Linked DNA regions of Homo sapiens: all the other regions are linked to region 6. Evidence: promoter capture Hi-C in 16 types of primary human blood cells and fetal thymus (Javierre and others, 2016). All regions are on one chromosome and are shown on one strand. Each heading gives the region's core, a stretch centred on a gene start or on the middle of the fragment in contact. The rest is flanking DNA. Distances are from core to core; before and after follow the strand shown. Region 1 has its middle 4.4 kb from the start of EPCIP. Region 2 has its middle 43 kb from the start of EPCIP. Region 3 overlaps PAXBP1 (PAX3 and PAX7 binding protein 1). Region 4 overlaps EPCIP-AS1 (EPCIP antisense RNA 1). Region 5 has its middle 24 kb from the start of EPCIP. Region 6 holds the start of LINC01548 (long intergenic non-protein coding RNA 1548). Region 7 overlaps EPCIP (exosomal polycystin 1 interacting protein).

What was found. Contacts are between HindIII fragments. The CHiCAGO score rates a contact against its expected background, and 5 or more counts as called.
Region 1: a contact is called between a fragment that was not itself captured here and the fragment with the promoter of LINC01548 in region 6, in 9 of 17 cell types (M2 macrophages, M0 macrophages, M1 macrophages and 6 more). The highest score is 10.4, in M2 macrophages.
Region 2: a contact is called between a fragment that was not itself captured here and the fragment with the promoter of LINC01548 in region 6, in 12 of 17 cell types (M1 macrophages, M2 macrophages, M0 macrophages and 9 more). The highest score is 12.0, in M1 macrophages.
Region 3: a fragment that was not itself captured here is called in contact with the fragment with the promoter of LINC01548 in region 6 in 1 of 17 cell types (M1 macrophages); the score reaches 5.5 in M1 macrophages.
Region 4: a fragment that was not itself captured here is called in contact with the fragment with the promoter of LINC01548 in region 6 in 3 of 17 cell types (M1 macrophages, M2 macrophages and M0 macrophages); the score reaches 7.8 in M1 macrophages.
Region 5: a contact is called between a fragment that was not itself captured here and the fragment with the promoter of LINC01548 in region 6, in 17 of 17 cell types (M2 macrophages, M0 macrophages, M1 macrophages and 14 more). The highest score is 32.8, in M2 macrophages.
Region 7: a fragment that was not itself captured here is called in contact with the fragment with the promoter of LINC01548 in region 6 in 9 of 17 cell types (M1 macrophages, M0 macrophages, M2 macrophages and 6 more); the score reaches 10.9 in M1 macrophages.

The regions. Positions count from the first base shown.
Region 1 is chr21:32,816,482-32,819,681 of GRCh38, forward strand. No RefSeq gene overlaps it. Among named protein-coding and RNA genes, the nearest start is that of EPCIP, 4.4 kb to the left of the region's middle. The HindIII fragment of the contact is 6,390 bases long and covers 1-3,200 here.
Region 2 is chr21:32,855,233-32,857,969 of GRCh38, forward strand. No RefSeq gene overlaps it. Among named protein-coding and RNA genes, the nearest start is that of EPCIP, 43 kb to the left of the region's middle. The HindIII fragment of the contact is 3,094 bases long and covers 1-2,737 here.
Region 3 is chr21:32,743,136-32,745,997 of GRCh38, forward strand. PAXBP1 (PAX3 and PAX7 binding protein 1) reads right to left here. Exons shown (of 18, transcript NM_016631.4): 12 at 2,439-2,583; 13 at 1,657-1,778; 14 at 543-619; 15 at 113-179. Among named protein-coding and RNA genes, the nearest start is that of PAXBP1-AS1, 16 kb to the left of the region's middle. The HindIII fragment of the contact is 627 bases long and covers 1,268-1,894 here.
Region 4 is chr21:32,774,556-32,777,577 of GRCh38, forward strand. All of the region lies in intron 1 of EPCIP-AS1 (EPCIP antisense RNA 1), which reads left to right. Among named protein-coding and RNA genes, the nearest start is that of EPCIP-AS1, 4.0 kb to the left of the region's middle. The HindIII fragment of the contact is 1,765 bases long and covers 599-2,363 here.
Region 5 is chr21:32,836,697-32,839,629 of GRCh38, forward strand. No RefSeq gene overlaps it. Among named protein-coding and RNA genes, the nearest start is that of EPCIP, 24 kb to the left of the region's middle. The HindIII fragment of the contact is 1,145 bases long and covers 1,055-2,199 here.
Region 6 is chr21:33,168,737-33,171,533 of GRCh38, forward strand. LINC01548 (long intergenic non-protein coding RNA 1548) reads right to left here and starts at 1,500. Exons shown (of 4, transcript NR_024102.1): 1 at 1,405-1,500; 2 at 960-1,097. RefSeq lists an enhancer at 712-781. The HindIII fragment of the contact is 7,514 bases long and covers 1-2,797 here.
Region 7 is chr21:32,797,943-32,800,807 of GRCh38, forward strand. All of the region lies in intron 3 of EPCIP (exosomal polycystin 1 interacting protein), which reads right to left. Among named protein-coding and RNA genes, the nearest start is that of EPCIP, 14 kb to the right of the region's middle. The HindIII fragment of the contact is 8,647 bases long and covers 1-2,865 here.

The DNA of each region.
Region 1 (3,200 bases), core at 154-2,653, 350 kb before region 6:
CTTAATTCAGCAACTTCCTGGTTGTGGATGAGGTAGTAGCTCCCCATGATGGTTCAATTCTATGGTGACTTTCAGAGTTCAGTCTAGAATCCATTTCTTCAGTCCTTCCAATGACTCAAGGCAGTATCTGTATATCTGAAGAAATTCCTGGTTTAAACCAGCTAGAGTAGACTCTGTTGCCTGTAACCAAGAACCCTGAATTATATACTAGTGCCTTAATTCTGTCCAATACAAGGTGACAGAGTTTGGATATATGTCCCCGCCCAAATATCATGTGGAATTGTAATCCCCAATGTTGGAGGTGGGGCCTGGTGGGAGATGATTGGATCATGAGGGTGGATTTCTCATGAATGCTTGATGCTGTCCTCACGATAGTGAGTTCTCATGAGATCTGGTTGTTTAAAAGTGTGTGGCACTTCCCCACACCTACTCCTGCTTTCCCCATGGGACACACCTGCTCCCCATTCACCTTCTCCACGATTGTAAGTTTCCTGAGGCCTCTTCAGAAGCCAAGCAGATGCTGCTATGCTTCCTGTACAGCCCACACAACCATGAGACAATTAAACCTCTTTTCTTTATAAATTACCCGGTCTCAGGTATTTCTTTATAGCAAGGCGAGAATGGCCTACTATACAAGGTAAGTGGAAGTTTGCTGGTACTGTCTCTTCTACTTCTTTATTTTAATGACTAAGATAAACAGCATAAGGTATTTAGTGTAAACTGAGCACAAATAAGGCAGCCAGTAATGGTAGCTACTATATTGATTACTCTTTGTGACTTTCTCTATTTATGACTCGGATGCCTTCCAGGACCTCTTGCTTAGTGGGGTTCCTGGCTGAAGGCAAAGAGTGTGAAGAGCCAGGTACTTCCCTGGAAACTTGAAGGCCAAACATGCAGCTGCTGATGGAATGTGGCTGGGGCCCTGTGTATGGCATGTTAAACATTTACCCCAGGTTTTATATCTCCCTGTCTTTTTAAAGCATTTACTTCCACTGGCTCTTTGTGTTAACCGGTCACATAGTTTAAGTTGATTTAGCAGCAATGAGTATTGGGAAGGTTAATAAAACCACACCTCAGACTGCCTGTTTTGTTCAGCTGTGGAGCCAACGGGTGGTGGACAAGTGTTTGTTCACAATGAGATGGAATTCTAGCTTTGTCCTTGACCAATTTTGTTTTCTTTCTCCGTTTTATTTTTTATCATAAAAGCAATGCAGTTTTTCTGATAGCACATTCAGATAATATCCAATGTATTAAGCAAAAGTGAAAATCCACACCCCCCTCTACAACTGATCTTCTGGAAATAATGTCTGGTGTAAGTCTGCAGTGAAGCAAATCTTGCTTGATTGTTCACTAACGTGTTCCTTAAAATCTTTTACCTTGGGCCTGGCATGGTAGCTCACATCTGTAATCCCAGCACTTTGGGAGGCTGAGATGGGAGGAGCACTTGAAGATAGGAGTTTGAGACGAGCCTGAGCAACATAGTGAGACCCTGTTTCTGCAAAAAATAAAAAATTAGCCAGGTGTAGAGGTGCCCACCTATAGTCCCAGCTACTCAGGAGGCTGAGGTGGGAGGATCTCTTGAGCCCAGGAGTTTGAGGCTGCAGTGAGCCAAGATCGCGCCATTGCACTCCAGCCTGGGCAACAGAGCACGACCCTGTCTCTGAAAAAGAAAAAAAAAATCTTTTACCACAAGGCCTCAAATTCCACTGTTTCTGACACCCTCTCTTCATGGATTCTCATCTGGATTCTCTACCACCCCCTACTTAACTGCCTCCAAATCACTACCAGTGTCTTCTATAAGTGTTTCTTCCATCTGGGGCAGGAGTCATCTCAGGGTCTCTCTTTCCTTCCCAACTTCCCTTCCCCTTCCTTCTTTGGCAACTTTAACATCTGTATTCTCAGCTCACTGCAGGCCGTCAGCACTCATGTCCTCACCTCATGGCCTTGCTGGGCCCCAGAGCTTGTGCAGGGCTCTATGTGTGTTCCTTCTCCCTGCTCCATCCTCACAGTGTCTCTAGATATCAGCGCCTCTGGCTTTACCTCTTCCATCCACCCTCAGCTCCCTGCCCTGCTGCATCCACACTGCCCTGACCCCTACCGAGGTGACCCCTACCTATGACCTTTGCCCTCTGCAAAGTCCACTCTGGGTCCTCTCATGGTCTGCTTCCTCAGCATCCACTTTAGGGTACAGGCACTCATGGAGAAAATGCAGAGAACTAAGAATTCCTAATGCTTGGTTTCCTGAGAACCCCTGATGTGATCCCGGAAGTCTTCCAGCGGTTCTGGCCCAGTGGCTGCAATAACTCTTCTCCACTTGTGTCAGATACTCACTGCTGTCACAGCATCCCTGGCCTCGTGAGAAGGCCTTGCATCTGAGAGGAGCCAGGAATCGTACCAGGGCTTTCTTACCATCCTGCTCACACCTATATACTCCTTAGAACATGAACATCTTGGATCAGACACCTCGTAAGCACTGCCTCAGCTCCTTTCAGCCACACCTGTCTTTGATTCCAGCCGCCACTGTAGTGACAGTTCTGCCATGAGCCTGACCAGCTGCATGTAGAACTAACTTGCAAGCACCTCTCACCTCCCATCCGAAGCCTTCTCTGTCATCTCTGCAGCCTGGGACAGACACTGCAAACACTCCTTAGTAGTCTCATGAATGCAACCTGAAGTTCCGGGGACTTAATGCCTCCATGGAGTGATCCTTTGACCAATGGGGGATTCCTCCTTTCTCAATCCAGGCAGACAGTCCTGAGATGCGTGCCTTGTGGCTTCTCAGGTGGTTCACAGAATCAAGCAGTAACTTACCTTGCGCTGCCCCTCACCGCTTCCCTCTCCCTCACTCTTGCTTCTAGGGATAGCAGTTCCCAATACAGTGCTTGCATATATGTATATATATGCTTTTCTGATGTTCTACTCTCTGGGAAAATCAGGCTAAGCCACATTCTTTCTTCTTTCCAGATTCTAAAATAAATTCTTCTACCTGTGAGCTAAAAGCAGCCCTTCCCAACTCCTGCGTTTCTTCTCTAGTGATGGCCTCATCTCTTCCAATAAGTAGAATCTTGATCTTGATAGTTTTAAGAAATGTATCCTTAGAGCTTCGAAAATCCCTCTTTTCAGAGTACCCCTCATATGGAATTACCTCCATAAAATGATGGGAAGAATACCTGAAGCATCGAAGTGATATCTTCAGTCCC
Region 2 (2,737 bases), core at 172-2,671, 310 kb before region 6:
GCCGTAAGTTAAGGATACTCGCAAATAGTTTCCAAATTCTAGAGAAACCAGGCAGAGAGAAACAAATATGCTCCAAATTTTGTTCACAGTAGTATACCTTACTCAATTGTTAAAAGTTGTAGATAGCTCAAAAGATTCCTTGACTCTGAAAAACAAAACAAGGATCAGCAATGTTTTAAGCAAAATTTTGAAAACATTACTTCAGTTTTCTATTGATTCAGTCCAATATCTGCTTGATATTCATGAACATTTCAGCTCTTCATGAGTCCTGAATGTTTTTCCTTTATTCCAATGTCACAATCTCCAAAGATATCAGGAACCTGCATTTAAGAGCACCTGTCAAAGTTCTATAGCTGATTATCAACCATCTTTTGAAAAGGAACAATACAAGACAACAATTATCTGTGAATGACAAAATGTTCAGGCTAGTTACAGTTAAAAACTTGATTGACAGAGAAATTTGGCTACTTGTATGGTTTACAATAACTTAACATAATAACCTTAATTATGATTGATAACATATACTCAGACATTAGAATTTTAGAAATCCTATGCAATTTTGGAACATACATTAATATTATTCACCAAAATAGAACCTGAAAATTAAATGTTATTTTTATTTTGGCAATCCCATGTAACTAAACATGTCAAATAATCCTGTTTACCTCTCTTTTGGATGTTCCAGGGGCCCTCTGTAGCATCCAAAAGTTAGGGGCTAGAAAAGACAACCTTGAAGCTAAAGTTTGATTTTTGGGGAAGCCTACAAACATGTTAAAGGTTTAAAACATTTGATATTATGCAATAGAATTCCAGGTTACCACAAGTCATTTATTTAGCCAAAATAATGATTTAAAACATTTTTAAAAAGGCAAAAACCTTTACATACTAAGAGGGAAGACTTAGCTTTCCAAACAATCTGTCTTGTCTTCCTCCCTCCTTTATTTGAAACCTTATAGATAATTCTATCCAATCTTAACCAGTTTGACCATGAGGTGAGGTTCCTATAAACCTTTTATAACCCTTTACAAATTTTTGTTAAAGAGCAGATCAATACATTAAGAAAACCCTGTTATGCTTTAATTCCAATGCTTGATTTACGGAAAAACCAAATCATACCCTTTTGAATTTAGTTGATCTCAAATGAAGTTTCTTTTACAAGATTAATTTTTACCAACCTTTCACAACTTCTTTAAACCTTTAGCTTTATCTTATCTGATTTAAAACAATTCTTTAACCCTCTAAACTAGGCAAAAATTTATATTCCCATGCCTTCTTATAATATTTTACCAAAAATATATTTTACTTTCTTTACACACCTTGCATGTAAATCTATTTTTAGTAGTCCCAATTATGTGTTATAATGGTAACTCTTAGCAATTTTTAATTTTAGTGTAAAACCTGGTAAGCTGTTTTAATTATGTACTAGGTGCAGCTAAGATCTGACACTTTCCAGTATAGTAAGAGGTATAGTTAACTCCACATGTCCCAAGGCCTTACCAAACTGTAAAGCAGACAAGCCGAACAGTTTTCAAAATCCAAAGAAGCAGTTTATGACCTTAGAGCATTTAGCAAACCTAATATCTGAACATAATTTAGACCACATGTTTACATTTTGAAGACATTTGTATTTTACCAATAATCTTTAAAACTGTTTTTATTTCTCAAAGATTAAAGTCATGTGAACTAAATGGCATTACAGCTTTTATTTTTCCTTTAAAATTTTTGATCTAAGCCTTTATTTTCTTTAAGCCAATTAATTAGAGCTCCTTTTTATACAGACAGACAGAAGAAGATCCAGTAGTTGTAAGATTTTTCATCTGCCAGTTTCTTAATTTGATTACTGGCCTCAGGGTGGAGCCCTTCAAGAGCAGGGCTAGGAAAGCATGCAGTTTCTAGGGCTAATAAACAGGCATAGCAGGAAGACAAATACAGATTTTGAGAGGGTTCTATCCACTTTTAATTCCTGGTGTTCCATGAGGAAAACACAGGTTTTTGCCCAAAATGGGGTCCATGGCACCTTTTCTGTTTTTCCCAAGCCATCCCAGGCTATCAGAAGTTGTCTTAGGGCCTCTCATGTGTGCATTAAGGGTGGCAAGACAGGCTCGGTGGCTCACGCCTGTAATCCCAGCACTTTTGGAGGCTGAGGTGGGCAGATCACAAGGTCAGGAGATCGAGACCATCCTGGCTAACACGGTGAAACCCCATCTCTACTAAAAATACAAAAAATTAGTCAGGCATGGTGATGGGCGCCTGTAGTCCCAGCTACTCGGGAGGCTGAGGCAGTAGAATGGCGTGAATCCAGAAGGCAGAGCTTGCAGTGAGCCAAGATTGCGCCACTGCACTCCAGCCTGGGCAACAGAGCAAGACTGTGTCTCAAGAAAAAAACAAACAACAACAACAACAAAAGAGTGGCAAGACAAAATGGAGAAAAATAATTCAGGTGACTGAGAAGAAAGAAAACTTTTTCCAGCAAAACAAGATCCAAGAAGAGAAAAAAAAAAAGCATAAAGGCCTTTCAAATGTACATATAGCTTGGATATCCACTTTTAATTAAGGTGACTTTTAGCTGTAGCACTCTTTAAAAAATTCTTTTAATTCCCTTATTACCCAACTTTAGCCATGCCAAGCAGCTGATATTTCTGACTTTTGAACTTTACCAAAATTAACCTCACAGGTGAAACCAACAAACCTCAACTAAGGTTGATTTAATCATGAGTGTACAAGGCATTTTCAGAGG
Region 3 (2,862 bases), core at 331-2,830, 430 kb before region 6:
GATATAAATAGATCTAAGCCTATGGAGTTAATAAAAAACAAAACACTCTAAAAAATGTAATATATGAAGTCAAACGAAATCTGAGTCTTTTAGATAGTCTATGGACACGTACCTTAACTGAAGACCAAAACTGTCGTTGAAAAAACAAGTAAGGCCCAGAATTTTTATTTTCTAAGACACTAAGTAAAAAAAAGAGAAACATATCATGATCAGATATTTTATATGTAGGTGCCATATGATTCCTGGACAAAAGATTTTTCTACAAAACAGGTAAACAAAATAAATTTTTAATTTTTCAAATAATTGCATTCTGGAAGATAGTATGTTAAAAAGGCAATGGAAATTTATTCTGAGACACTCAGGGAGAACGTAAGAGTATTGTTTTATTCTGCTTAAGGGAACAATCTCGCCACTAATCTAGTCTCTCTGTAATACACTACATGGGTGAAGTTTGTATTTCAAGCTAGTTTTTCAGAATTTTATAAGCCTTCTCTGAAACACAATGGAGAATATTATCTTTAATGTTCTTCAGAGTTACTTACTTTTTGGGATATAAGGGCATAAATACATCATCATCTAAAGTTCTTCTCATTCTCAATAAAAGTGCCTTTAGGTATACCTAAAAAGTTAAAAGTAGATCACACATTTTAATAAGGACTATGACAAGAAAAATAAGCCATATTCCAAATCATGTAACTGAATATTGAACTGAGTGAACTAGTTTCTCAAATTTTTAATTTTCCTCATTGAAGACCCTAAAGTAATTAATACTTAATAATCTATTAGTTCATTCCTCAACAACTGCCAAGCAATAAAGCTTTAGAAATCTTTCAATTCCTTAGTCTACATAAAGATTTAAGACCAGACACATAATCTAGCTCTCAAAGTGAAAATTCAACAATGACAAAGAGCACCCACCTTCTCTACATTTAAACAGCTTCTATGAATGGCCCCTGAAGAGCATTAACTTTAAGTTTGGCAACTAGTTATAAAACAGTATCTAGTTGTTTTATATGCTGTTTAAATGGTTTGGGTGCCCAATCTTTTGGCTTCCCTGGGCCATACTGGAAGAACTGTCTTGGGCCACACATAAAATACAATGACACTAATGACAGCTGATGAGCTAAAAAAAAAAAAAAAAGAAAAAAAAAAAGGAGGGGGGCGGGGTCTGTGCATAAATTTCATGTATTAAGACAGTTTACAAATTTGTGTTGGGCCGCATTCAAAGCCGTCCTGGGCCACATGTCCATGGGCCACGGGTTGGACAAGCTTAAATTATCAATTGTTAACATTTTGGTTTCTCATTTCCCCCCAGAAAATACAGTCTTTAAAAGGACATTTGATTAGTTGGATTGGGACTGAGGTGTGGTGGTGAGAAATCATAATGAAAGGCTATTTAAAATGATGACATCTTCCTTCCATATTGATTTTTTTAAACTGAAAACTAACATCTCTCTGCGGGACTAGGTATAAAAAAAAGAAAAAAAAAACCTAACATCTCAAATTTTGTGTATTTCAGGCTTTAATGGCCCTGATGGCCCAAGTGGGAGAACCAGATTTCTGATTGGTTTAGGATAACCACTCATTCTCTCAATGCTTGCTCATATTCAACAGAAAGAGGAAAAAAAAAAAAGGCTTCAAAAGATACTAAATTACCTGTGTATTTTTATTTTCTGCATTCACTACTGAAGGATATCCATTGATTAATTTTAGTGTAATTCCCACCATTCTTGAAGTCTGTGTTGTAGAAAAAGGGTCCCACATATTTTCAGCTATCACTATTAAGAAAAAAAGAGGATTGAGACACAGAAGCCAATTGTACCTTTAATTTTTTGTCAAGCAGACCTCTATTAATGCCAATCCTAATTTATTTTTCCTCTTTTTCTACAATATAAGCTTTAGTCTTCTTTGTCCTATTAACTGTGGGAATTTGGAGGGATAGGGATGTGGAGAGAGGATAGATTATTCTTATTTCTGGTACTCAGGGAAAATAAAGATTAGGAAAAAAGAGGATTTCTGTAGAAATGTTGTCTTGGCATCAAGAATTTCAAACTAACATTTCTAGTATTTAAAATAGATTCCTGTATCAATGATTCCTAATCTTTTTTGAGGAACTTATGAAAGCATTTTAATTGCTCCCCACATAAATGCATATCCTCCTCCCTCAAACTCTGTATAATTTTGCTTCAGTCAGTCTTTGAATTTCTAAACCTCACCTATGAAGCAATTACTGCACTCAACTACAGGCCCACCCTAAAGTGGTCTTCAAGTCCCAGGATAAGAACCCCTCTGCCCTCTAGCCATCTCTGGGCCAGGTGGTAACTATTATTTCTCATGTAATTTCTATAAGGAAACATGCTCTGAATTATAAACTCATAAAAATAGATTTGAGAAAGCCAGTGTGTCTGAATGCTCAATTCAGAGAACAGGAGATTTACCTGTTAGTTTAGGAAGAATCACCTTTTCCACAATGGTAGGTAGTAGGGCAACATCTACATCATCTTTTTCTTGCTCTCGTTCTTCACAACCATAAAACAGCAAAGATTCAAACCACAGCATATTCTCAAAGTCACGACATTTTGCCTAAAAGACATTTAAAAGGTTACCCAAATACTAAAATAGTGGCTATTTCTGCTTCCAGCTATGATAAGAGAAACAAGAACTGGATTTAACCTTTGGTTGCAAACAACTAAAAACTGGACGGCTGGAGATATCATGCTACCAGACTTCAAACTATAAGGCCACAGTAACCAAAACAGCATGGTACTGATACAAAAACAGACACATAGACCAATGGAACAGAATAGAGAACTCAGCAATAAGACCGCACACCTACAACCATCTGATCTCCGACAAACCTGA
Region 4 (3,022 bases), core at 231-2,730, 390 kb before region 6:
GACAAGGTCCAGAAGCCAAATATGTTATTATGGTGGCCTGAAATTTCAAAAATTTCTCCCAGTGTAAAAGTGGTGATTGGATATGGATAGAGGGAAGAGTACCTCTCATTTTAAAGTAAGCCACAATACAATCACTTGTCACTTGACGGGGATACATTCTGAGAAATATGCCATTAGGCAATTTCATCACATACTTACACAAACCTAGTGGTGTAGCCTACTACATACCTAGGCTGTATGGCATAGCTTATTGCTTCTAGGCTACAAACCTATACGGCATGTTACTGTACTGAATACTGTAGCACTTGTAACACAATGGTATCTGTATCTAAACATAGAAAAGATACAGTAAAAATACAGCATAAAAGCTTTAAAAATGGTGCACCTGTATAGGACACTTACCAGGAATGGAGCTTACAGGACTGGAGGTTGCTCTGGGTGAGTCAGTGAGTGAGTGGTAAGTGAATATGAAGGCCTAGGTTATTACTGTACACTGCTGTAGATTTTATAAACAACTGTACACTTAGGCTACACTAAATGTTTAAACATATTTCTTTCTTCAATAATAAATAGCTTACTATAACTTTTTTACTTTATAAGCTTTCTTATTTTTTAAAACTTTTTTGTTGTTATTGTTTTGTTTTGTTTTTGTTTTTTGAGATGGAGTCTCACTCTGTCACCCAGTCTGGAGTGCAGTGGCGCGATCTCAGCTCACTGCAACCTCCACCTCCCAGGTTCAAGCAATGAGACAGAGTCTCACTCTATCCCCAGGCTGGAGTGCAGTGGCGTGATCTCAGCTCACTGCAACCTCTGCCTCCCAGGTTCAAGCAATCCTCCCACCTCAGCTTCCCAAGTAGCTGGGATTATAAGCGTGCACCACCATGCCCAGTTAATGTTTGTATTTTTAGTAGAGATGATCCGCACACCCCACAAGCTCCTGTGTTGGCCAGGCTGGTCTTGAACTCCTGACCTCAAGTAATCTGCCCACCTCGGCCTCCCAAAGTTCTGGGATTGCAGGCATGAGCCAACGTGCCCAGACATTTTTTAAAACTTCTTGACTTTTTTTTTTTTTTTTTTGAGACAGAGTTTTGCTCTTGTTGCCCAGGCTGGAGTGCAGTAGTGCAACCTCAGCTCACCGCAACCTCTGCATCCAGGGTTCAAGAAGTTCTCCTGCCTCAGCCTCCTGAGTAGCCGGGATTACAGGCATGCACCACCACGCCCAACTAATTTTGTATTTTTAGTAAAGACAAGGTTTCTCCATGTTGGTCAAGGCAGTCGCAAACTCCCGACCTCAGGTCGTCCACCTGCCTCAGCCTCCCAAAGTATTGGGATTACAGGCGTGAGCCATCGTGCCCGGCATAACACTTTGCTTAAAAAAATACACATTTACAGCTGCACAAAAATATCTTCTATTTTTACCATTTTAATTATTTTGTTTTACTTTTTAAACTTTAAAGCTAAGACACAAACACACACATCAGCCTAGGCCTACGCAAGGTCAGGATTATCAGTGTCACTGTCTTCCACTTCCACATCTTGTCCCACTGGAAGGTCTTCAGGAAAAATAACAAACATGGAGCTATCATGTCCTATAAAAACAATATCTTTTTCTGGAATACCTCCTGAAGGACCTGCCTGAGGCTCTTATATACTTAACTTTTTTTTTTGTAAGTAAAAAGAGTGCGCTCTAAAATAACAGTAAAAAGTATAGTATAGGCGTCCCCAACCACCTCCCACCCCTGCAGGAGGCAAGTGGCCAAAGGTAGACATTGTTCTCTCTCTTTTTTTAAGTTTATTTTTAAAATGTTAGAAGCCACAAAGCCAATAAATATGTAAAAAATATTCTATATACATTAGCTGATGTCTTAGTCCATTTGGGCTGCTACAACAAAATACCATTAATTGGGTGACTTATAAACAACAAATTTATTTCTCACAGCTCTGGATGCTGGGAAATCCAAGGTTAAGGCACTGGCAGATTTGTGTTCCGGTGAGGGTCTGCTTCCTGGTTCATAGATGGTACCTTCTAGCTGAGTCCTCACATGGTGGAAGGGAGACAACTGTGGTTTCTTCAGCTTCTTACCAGGGCACTAATCCCATTCATAAGGGCTCCACCTTTGTGACCTAGTCACATTCCAGCATCTCTACCTCCTCTGCTATCACACTGGGGATTAGTGTTTCAATATATACATTTGGGGGGAAGATAAATAGCTGGGCCTTAACAACTGATGAGGCCTCACTAAATATGCGAGAAATAAGATAAAGCAGGGGTCCCCAACCTCCAGGCCACAGACTGGTACCAGTCAGTGGCCTGTTAGGAACCGAGCTGCACAAGAGGAGGTGAGCGGCGGGTGAGCAAACAAAGCTTCATCTGTATTTGCAGCCACTCTGCATCACTCGCATTACCACCTGAGCTCTGTCTCCTGTCAGATCTGCAGCAGCATTGGATTCTTACAGGAACACGAACCCTATTGTGAACTCTGCACATGAGGGATCTAGCTTGTGCACTCCTTATGAGAATCTAATGCCTGATGACCTGTCACTGTCTCCCATCACCCCCAGATGGGACCATCTGGTTGCAGGAAAACAAGCTGAGGGCTCCAACTGATTCTACATTATGGTGAATTGTATAATTATTTCATTATATATTACAATGTAATTGTAATAGAAATAAAGTACACAGTAAATGTAATGCATTTGAATCATCCTCAAACCATCCTCCACCCCCTAGTTCATGGAAAAATTGTCTTCTATGAAACCAGTCCCTGGTGTCAAAAAGGTTGGGGACTACTGGTATAGCAAATACATAAACCAGTAACATAGTCATTTATTATCATTATGGAGTTTTATGTGGTATATGTAATTGTATGTGCTATACTTTTATACCACTGAAACAGAGGTTTCTTAATACCAGCATCACCACACACATGAGTAATGTATTGTGCTACAGTATTATGATTGCTATGATGTCACTAGATGATAGGAATTTTTCAGCTCCATTGCAATCTTTTTTTTTTTTTTT
Region 5 (2,933 bases), core at 377-2,876, 330 kb before region 6:
TATATTAATAGGTAATGGAAGAAAAAACCCATAATTATAGTTTTGTGACCCAAAGAGCTTTTTTTGTCAAAATTTGACAATCATTTCTTCATTTTAAAAGTTTCAATTAGGAATAGATTCTGGACACAATAAATTAACATGTAAACACATATGCACGTATTAGTTGAAAAACCATCATGATGCTAAATGGCAAAATGCTAAAACCATTTTTTCCGTTATTAAAGACAATATTGGTCACCATGGAAACTATTTTTTTAATACTGTTCTAGGAGTACTGGCCAGTGCAATTAGATAAGAGGAAAAAAAGCTGTAAATATGGGGAAAATTATTTGCAGATTACATCATTATATATCTCTAAAATCCATATAAATCAATTGAAAAGCTGTTAGAAATAATATGACTAAGTACCTGGTTATAAAGTTAGTTATACAAAAATTAATAGGCTTTTTCTGTACATAAATATAATGGGATGAATTGATCAATTTCAAGTCTGATTGGCTGGATGATTTTTTTTTCCTCTGCAAACCAGACCTTCTCTGCCTCTGAGCAGTGGTCTGTAACAGGATGAATTTCTGTTGGATCAGCTGAAGTGGTGGCTTGGGCAGTGAGGCAATTCTTCATCAAGACATACCTTTTTGTTGCTTCTAATTACCTGCTGGCAGGAACTAAAAGTGTGTCTCTTGTATGCATGCCATGTGTGTAAAATTAGAGTCTTTGAAATTGTTCAAATAAAGAGGATTAGTTATAGTTGTAGGGAGATATAAAGACTAAGCCAAAAGAAGCAGAGTTTATCTGCCTTCACACTTCACCCATCTGTTAACCCGGCTGAGACACATTTTCTTGTAGCATTAGTATTTTATGCACTGTTTTTCTTGATATAGTAACAGATTTAATTCATTCTTTATGGTAATAGATCCCTTGTATCCATAAAGAAAGAACATATTCCATCATTACCTTAATATCATGTCTAATACAGAGTGGCCGTACAATTGGAAAGTTATTTCTCAGACCACTAAACTTACACATAAATGTTAAACACTGTATATTACTTTTAAGCTTACTTTTGATCTGCTATCAAACCTAAGAAGTTGTTTTATTTTGATTAACTCTATATAATAGTTAATTTTTTTCCTCTAAAATGTGTTTTAAAGGCTGAAGCTGTATTTGACATCATTTTTAAAGCTATGTGATTTATTCTTTTTTATTCTCCACTGTCAAATATACATATTTGAAGATATGTATGGTAATACCATTTTCAAGCACTAGCTAGTTTAAGGAGCATAGAGCATGGTAAGTGATATAAAACTTCATTCACCCATAAACCCCAAACCCCTAGTACTGAATGCCCACATATATCATCCTTACTATCAGAGAAATTATGTTTATAACATATGCTGAGTTCAAGACCAGCCTGGGCAACATGGCAAAATCCCACCTCTATGAAAAAATATGAAAATCAGCCAGGTGTGGTGGCGCACCTGTAGTCCCAGCTACCTGGGGGGCTGAGATGGGAGGATAACCTGAGCCCTGGCAGGTCAAGGCTGCAGTGAGCCATGATTGTGCCACTGCATTCCAGCCTGGGTGACAGAGTGAGACCCTGTCTCAAAAAAAAACAAAAGAGAAAAGCATTCAGCTTTTTGCTTCCTACATGTATGTCACCACATAAACAAAGGAAAGTGAGACTCAAGTTACCGTAAAAGAGTCCTTCACTGGAAGCAAATCCTCAACTGTTTTAGAAAAATGAGTTTATGATCATTATTATTTTGCTAAAAGGATTCTTTATTTCATCACAGGAACCTTCTACTAACCCCCTTTAGTCTAAAAAAGCTCTAATCTATAAAAATTAAAAATATATAGATCAATTTGATCCTTATAGTTTATCCATCCAATAATTTTTTGGTTAATATTTGCATGGCAGATAAATCTTTACTTCCCTTATTTCTACCTCCTGTATTGAGTGCTCAATCAACTTTTAAATAAATTATCACATGTATATATACATAATAAGATTACTTAACATTCCTATGTTGAATTTTGAATTTGTTTCATTTGTTCATTCATTCTTACATCCAACAGATATGGATTGCAAACCTACTACATGGCAAGCATAAGTGCCCCGGGGTTATGGCAGTGAACAAAATTCTTATCCTCATACAGTTTATCTTCTGATTTGGTGGATATGAGAAACTGGTGAACTTAAGCTTAAAATCAATCAGATGCTGAGTTTGTTATTAAAAAACAGAAAAGAGAGCTCAGGTTAAATACATGCACTAGCTAATCTAAATCTTTCTTGGAAGTAGACTTGGTACTAGTCTCTCAATTATCAATCATTTGGGCATTCTGTGATGATTTTATTATATCCTTAATTGCATTGCAGAAATGGAAAAAAAATTATCTCTTCCAATTGCCGTTCCCATCTGATGAGTCCTTCATGGGAGCAACAAGCAGCTGATTTGCCATCAGCTTTGTACCAGTGTAGGGGCTATTTTGGCAACAACATATGCTTTGGTGTCAGAGTAACTGACCTTCGAATCTTAGCTCTTACTATGATATTGGGCTAGTTACTTGATTTCTCTGAGCCCATTCTTCCATCTGTTAAACAGGCATATTAATCCTGCTTTAAAGGAGTATAATTCAGATTAATGAAATAATCGGTGTATAGTACCTGGCAGGTCAGAGCTCCCCTACCCAAGGTCCCCATTTAGTGGCAGAGCCAGGATTAGATCCCACATCACCTCACTCTGGTGCCAGTCCTTGTCTCGTACCATGTTTACATTTAATAATCTCTGGTGATTTTACTCACATGACGAGACAATAGATTTATTCATCATTTATTAAGAAGACATTGAGTTCTTTGCTGTGCTGCCTCTTTGACCTCTCTGGGCCAAAAATGAGGGAGTTGTATGAGGCTCCAGGGTCTCTTTTAACCATGC
Region 6 (2,797 bases), core at 250-2,749:
AGACCAGCCTGGGCAACACAGGGAGACCGCATCTCAACAAAAAGTTTTAAAAATTAAAAATTTTAAAAATAGTGGGAGGAGAAAGAAGCATCCCAGTGTGGTGTTATTGGCCTGGTTACCTCCATGGGCTGCTGGGACTGGATCCCCTGGAGACCCCCTGAGGAAGCGTGTGAAAGATGCCTCAGAATTGTCCACCCAAGACATGGATGGAAGACAGATGAGCTCATCAGCTCCTGCCCCTATTGGTCAAAGTTTTCCCCCAAGGAAAGCCACCTCCCTTGAGCTTCCAAGTTTACACACAAGCCAGTATAGCTAAGCAAGTCCCCGCAGGCTTGGACAGAAAGCCTGCCACAGCAGATACCCACTGCCACAGCTGTCAGGTGACAGCTTGTTGCGGTTGTCAGAGCAACGCCCAGGAGCAAAAAAGGCGAGCCAGGTCAGGCGCAGTGGCAAACTCCTGCAATCCCAGCAATTTGGGAAGCCAAGGCAGGAGGATTGTTTGAGGCCAGGAGTTCAAGACCAGCTTGGGCAAGAAAGAGACCCCTGTCTCTACAAAACATAAAAAATTAGCCAGGCATGGTGGTGCGTGCCTGTGGTCCCAGCTACTCAGGAGGCTGAGGCAGGAGGATAGCTTGAGCCCAGGAGGTCAAGGCTGCAGTGAGCCATGGTCGTGCCAGCACACCCTAGCCTGAGTGATAGAGCGAGACCCTGTCTCTAAAAACTTAAAGAAAAAAACGGTGAGCCAAGAGCATGTGAAAGGAGCGTGAAAGGAGCATGAAAGGGAGGTGGGCAGAAGAAGCTGGTTGGATAGAGGAAGTGAAAGGAAGAGGCGCATTTGTACAGACAGCCGCCCTTCTGGACCGAGTAACCACGTGGAGAGTGGTTCTCCATCCACCCACATAGGACGCACAAGGAAAAGAAGAGGTTCCCAAAGATAAGGGATTTCATGGGGAAAATACCTCATCGAATGGACTGCGACCCTCAAGGGAAGATGTTCCATAAGCTCGGCGCGAGTCAGGCAGTAGGGAGAGGTCTTGAGATCACAGGTGAAGTGAAGGCTCCCAGGAAGGGTGATTGCAGGGCGAGGGCCTCCTGACCTGGAGACAGGGCCCCAAGGAACAGTCATACGAAGAGGGCAGAGGACAAATGAAGAGGGAGTGGACAGAAAGAGAAATGGGAGGAGAGCCATGTGCCAGGAGCCAAGTGATTTAAATGCAGGTGTAGTGCCCTGGAGAGTTCCATGTGTAAGAACAAGTAAATCATTGTTGCTTACCTCTCCCTTGAAAAAAAAAAAATACCCTGCTTCTTGTCCTAAGTTCCCAGGCTCTCTTTTTGCCTACTCCCTCCCCAGTTGCTGAGTCCAGTCAACCCTCCTGCTACAGTATCCCCTATAGCGCCATTCACCTGCCCTCCTCTGCTCCCTTGGCCAACATCTAGGTTCAGAACCTCATTGTCTCTCTTCTGGTCTGTCCTGCCTCCTCCTCCCTCTGCTGCTGTCCATCCAGGTGGATTTTCCTAAAGGGAAAAGGTGCACTTGAGGGCAAATTTCTCTTGGCCATGCACTTAGGAGGGGGATTTCTGGGTAAAGGGGTAAGTTCACTGCTTTTCTAATTCTCTACTTTTTCCTTATCCTCACCCATAAATCTTACAACCCCCTTGAAGTGCAATAACTTTATTTCTAGGACCTCTCAGAGCCTTTGCCTGTGCTGTTCCCACTTGCCGGGAATGCCTTTCCCTTCATCCCCAATAGTTCAAGCCCCACCTTTTCCTGAGCCCAGCTCAGATGCCACCCCCTCATCCAGGAAGGCCTCCTTGATACCTCCCTACCAGAATTAATCTCTCCTTCTCTTGTGGTCTGAAGACTCTTGGCTTTCTCCCCTGTCCTATTTTTGCTTGTTATCACTGACATTGCTTTACACGCTTTTTCTCCTCTGCTGGGAGCAAGGGCAGTTTCTATGTCACAATGCCCCACTATGCCCATTAAGCTACAGTGCACATGGTACCCATCCCGAGACCAACATTCTTTTTACACTTCTGTGCTTCTGACCTAGGAAAGTCTTACTTTTCATAGAGTGTCATAGCTGAGTTGGAAGCTCTTTTCTTAGAGCCTCTTAAAATAATGGCGTGCCTTATAGTCAATGATCTCTTACATTCCATTAAATACAGTAGGAGATGTTCAACCAATATTTGCTAAATTGGAGGAGTTAAAGTCATTTTGAGTAGGAGAGGGAATCTAGACCCACTATTTGGATTAGTACAGATTTTAGTGCAACTCAGGGCTTCTGCAGAGCCCCTCCAGCTTTCACCTGTCCACTTAGTTGATGATGAGCACGCCTGCGAACTCTTCACACTTTCCAAACCCACCAAGGCAGCTTCTCCCGTAAGGACATGTTTCTTACCTTCAAGACCCCTGTTGCCTCCAGCAGCAATCTCAGTAATGACGTCTACTTCTGTTTCCTGCTTCCTTCTCCCTGACTCCTGCTTCCTGGAGTCCCCTCAGATAAACCTCCTGTGCCCAAGACCTTGTCAGGGTCTGCATTTACGGGAACCCAACTAAAATTCCAGGACCACCATATAAAGGTCCCTTTGTCGGGGGCTGGGCCTGCTCTGGATACGGTAGGGAAGTGGCTCCAGGGTCTGCGGCCAGCGAGGAGAGGGTCCGGCAGTCACCAGTGGGAGCTGTTTCCTCCCGTATTCCTCCCACCTGTCCCTACCTGTCCTGCTGGCGGGGTAAAGAGTGGGATTTACCTCGTGACAGCTGCCTTACAGCCCCATGAAAAGGCACTTTGGGCTGCGG
Region 7 (2,865 bases), core at 166-2,665, 370 kb before region 6:
TCTGGGGACAAGATGGTCACTAGTAGATCCAGGTTTACTTTCTATCAGCTGAGCAACCTCTCAAGAAAAAATAAATAAATAAATAAACCTCTCTTTAAATAGCACCAGGCTGCTGGGTGTGGTGGCTCATACCTGTAACCCCAGCACTTTGGGAGGCTGAGGTAGGAGGATTGTGGGAAGCCAGGAGTTCAAGACCAGCCCAGCCAACATTGTGAGACATAATCTCTACAAATAAAATAAATTAGTTGGACATGATGGTGTGCACCTATAGTCCCAGCTACTCGGGAGGCTGAAGCAGAAGGATCACTTGAGTCTGAGAATTCGGTGTTGTTTAAGCCACCCTGTTGTGGTATCTGCTATGGCTGCACAGGCAGAAATAGGGACACAAGTGCAGGTTCAGGGCAAGGTGTGTGAGCACACTCAGTCCCTGGCCTCGGAGTCTCTCTGGATGGCTTCTTGCCTAGGGTGACTGACAGAGGGAGGGATGATATGCAAAGGCACCTGTTCTCCTCATGACCTAACCCCAATTCTTACTCCACGGGTTCATGACAGCCTATTCTGCTGGAGACTGTGTCTTAAAACTTCCTCCCCTAGTTTCTCTCAAGTACCCCTCGTGAGCTGTGATTTCACTGGGCTTTGAACTCTTAGGCCATTTGAGGCTGCAGTGAGCTATGATTGTATCACTGCACTCCAGCCTAGATGACAGAACGAGACCCCATCTCTAATGAATAAATAAATATGGCTGGGCACAATGGCTCAGGCCTGTAATCCCAGCATTTGGAAGACCAAGACAGGCAGATCGCTTCAGCTCAGGAGTTCGAGATCATTCTGGCCAACAAGGCGAAACCCTGTCTCTACCAAAAATACAAAAATTAGCCAGGCAGGGTGGCATGTGCCTTTAATCCCAGCTACAGGGAGGCTGAGGCAGGAGAATCACTTGAACCTGGGAGGCAGAGGTTTCAGTGAGCTGAAATTGTGCCACTGCACTCCAGCCTGAGTGACAGAGTGAGACTTTGCAACCAAAAAATAAAATAATAATAATAATGAAATAAATAACCAAATAAGTAAATAAATAAATATTAGGAGGCAAAAATACATTGGACTCCTGAGTCGTACACTCAGCTTGGGAGCCAATGAATGGGATCAGCCCCACTGCAAAGAGTGGACTGAGAGGGTAGAAGGATGGTTCTGCAAAGGGAAATCAGGAGGCGCTATCAGAAAAGGGCCAGGTAGGCAGTCAGAAAGGTGGGTGCCCACAAGACCCATGGGATGAGCATGGGTGAGCATTGCAACTCTACTCCTCTCAGTCTCAGCAAACACTAAAGCACCACTTTGATAAAATGCCCTCTAAGAGTGCAGATATATGTCTGACTTTGTGGGATATATTCAGATTTTCAAATTGGCTCCTTTACTGGAGGGCCCCTCGATTTTACCACCCAAGAATCTTCAAGGATTTTTGCAGGGACACACTTTGGGTACTGCATTTGTGAGCAATAGCCCTGCTTACCTCTCCAAGTCCTGGCTTCACAGTGTGTTCCTTGGGGTGCCCGGGCCCTAGCTTTCTTCTGGCTTTAACCCCAGAGCCATAACTCAGATCTATACTTGAGACTGCTTCTTGCCAGGGCATCTTCTCAGCTTCTGACTCTTGAGCCTTTCACAATTTTCTTCTCTTGAGTCTTTCCCCTAATTGCATTTCCACTTTAAAAATAAAAATCACAGCCAGGCATGGTGGTTCACACCTGTAATCCCAGCAGTTTGGTAGGCTGAGGGGGGCAGATCATTTGAGGTCAGGAGTTCAAGACCGGCCTGGCCAACATGGGGAAACCCTGTCTCTACTAAAAATACAAAAATTAGCCAGGTGTGGTGGTGCACACCTATAATGCCAGCTACTCAGGAGGCTGAGGCACGAGAATTCCTTGAACCCGGGAGGCAGAGGTTGCCGTGAGCCGAGATCGCACCACTGCACTCCAGCCTGGGTGACAGAGTGAGTGAGACTCTATCTCAAATAATAAAATAAAAACCACTTTTGATTTCAAATTAAGCTCACTTCCAAATTACGTTTTTAAATTGCTTTTGATTTTTAATTGCTATAAGGATTTGGAGAATGTCACTTGATTTTTCCACAATTAGTTATTTGTCTTTTGTGTTAGGACTATAGAGCTCAGAACATCATTATTTATGACATTTCAAATCTGTTTTGGGCAAATGCTCCAAATGCTGTCCTCCCACTGACACAATATCTCCTTACTAGTAATATCTTCTTATAAACAGAACTAGTCAAGTTTGAAACATTCCTTTTGAAGCCAAGTATAAACATTATCTAAATGTTGGGTGTAATCCTAGATTGAGAAGGAATCTGTGTGGAATTTGTTTTGAAGTAACTGATGTCTGTATCTCCTCAATTTAGAACCCTCTGTCTTTATGCAGCTAGTTGCTAGTATTGTTCTTGAGATTTCTTCAGCTGCAATACAAAAATAATACTCAAACTGATTCTGAATAGTAGCTCTGGTTTTTAAACATGTCCAGTGATTTAAAGGCTCAAATATTTAATAATCATGCACAAAGGCTCAAATATTTAATAAGTAAGCACATAGGCCGGGTGTGGTGGCTCACGCCTGTAATCCCAGCACTCTGGGAGGCCAAGGCAGGTAGATCACGAGGTCAGGAGTTCGAGACCAGCCTGACCAATGCGGTGAAACCCTGTCTCTACTAAAAATACAAAAATTAGCTGGCCATGGTGGCATGTGCCTGTAATCCCAGCTACTCAGGAGGCTGAGGCAGGAGAATCGCTTGAACCCAGGAGGCAGAGGTTGCAGTGAGCTGAGATCGCGCCATTGCACTCCAGAGTGAGACTCTGTCTCAAAA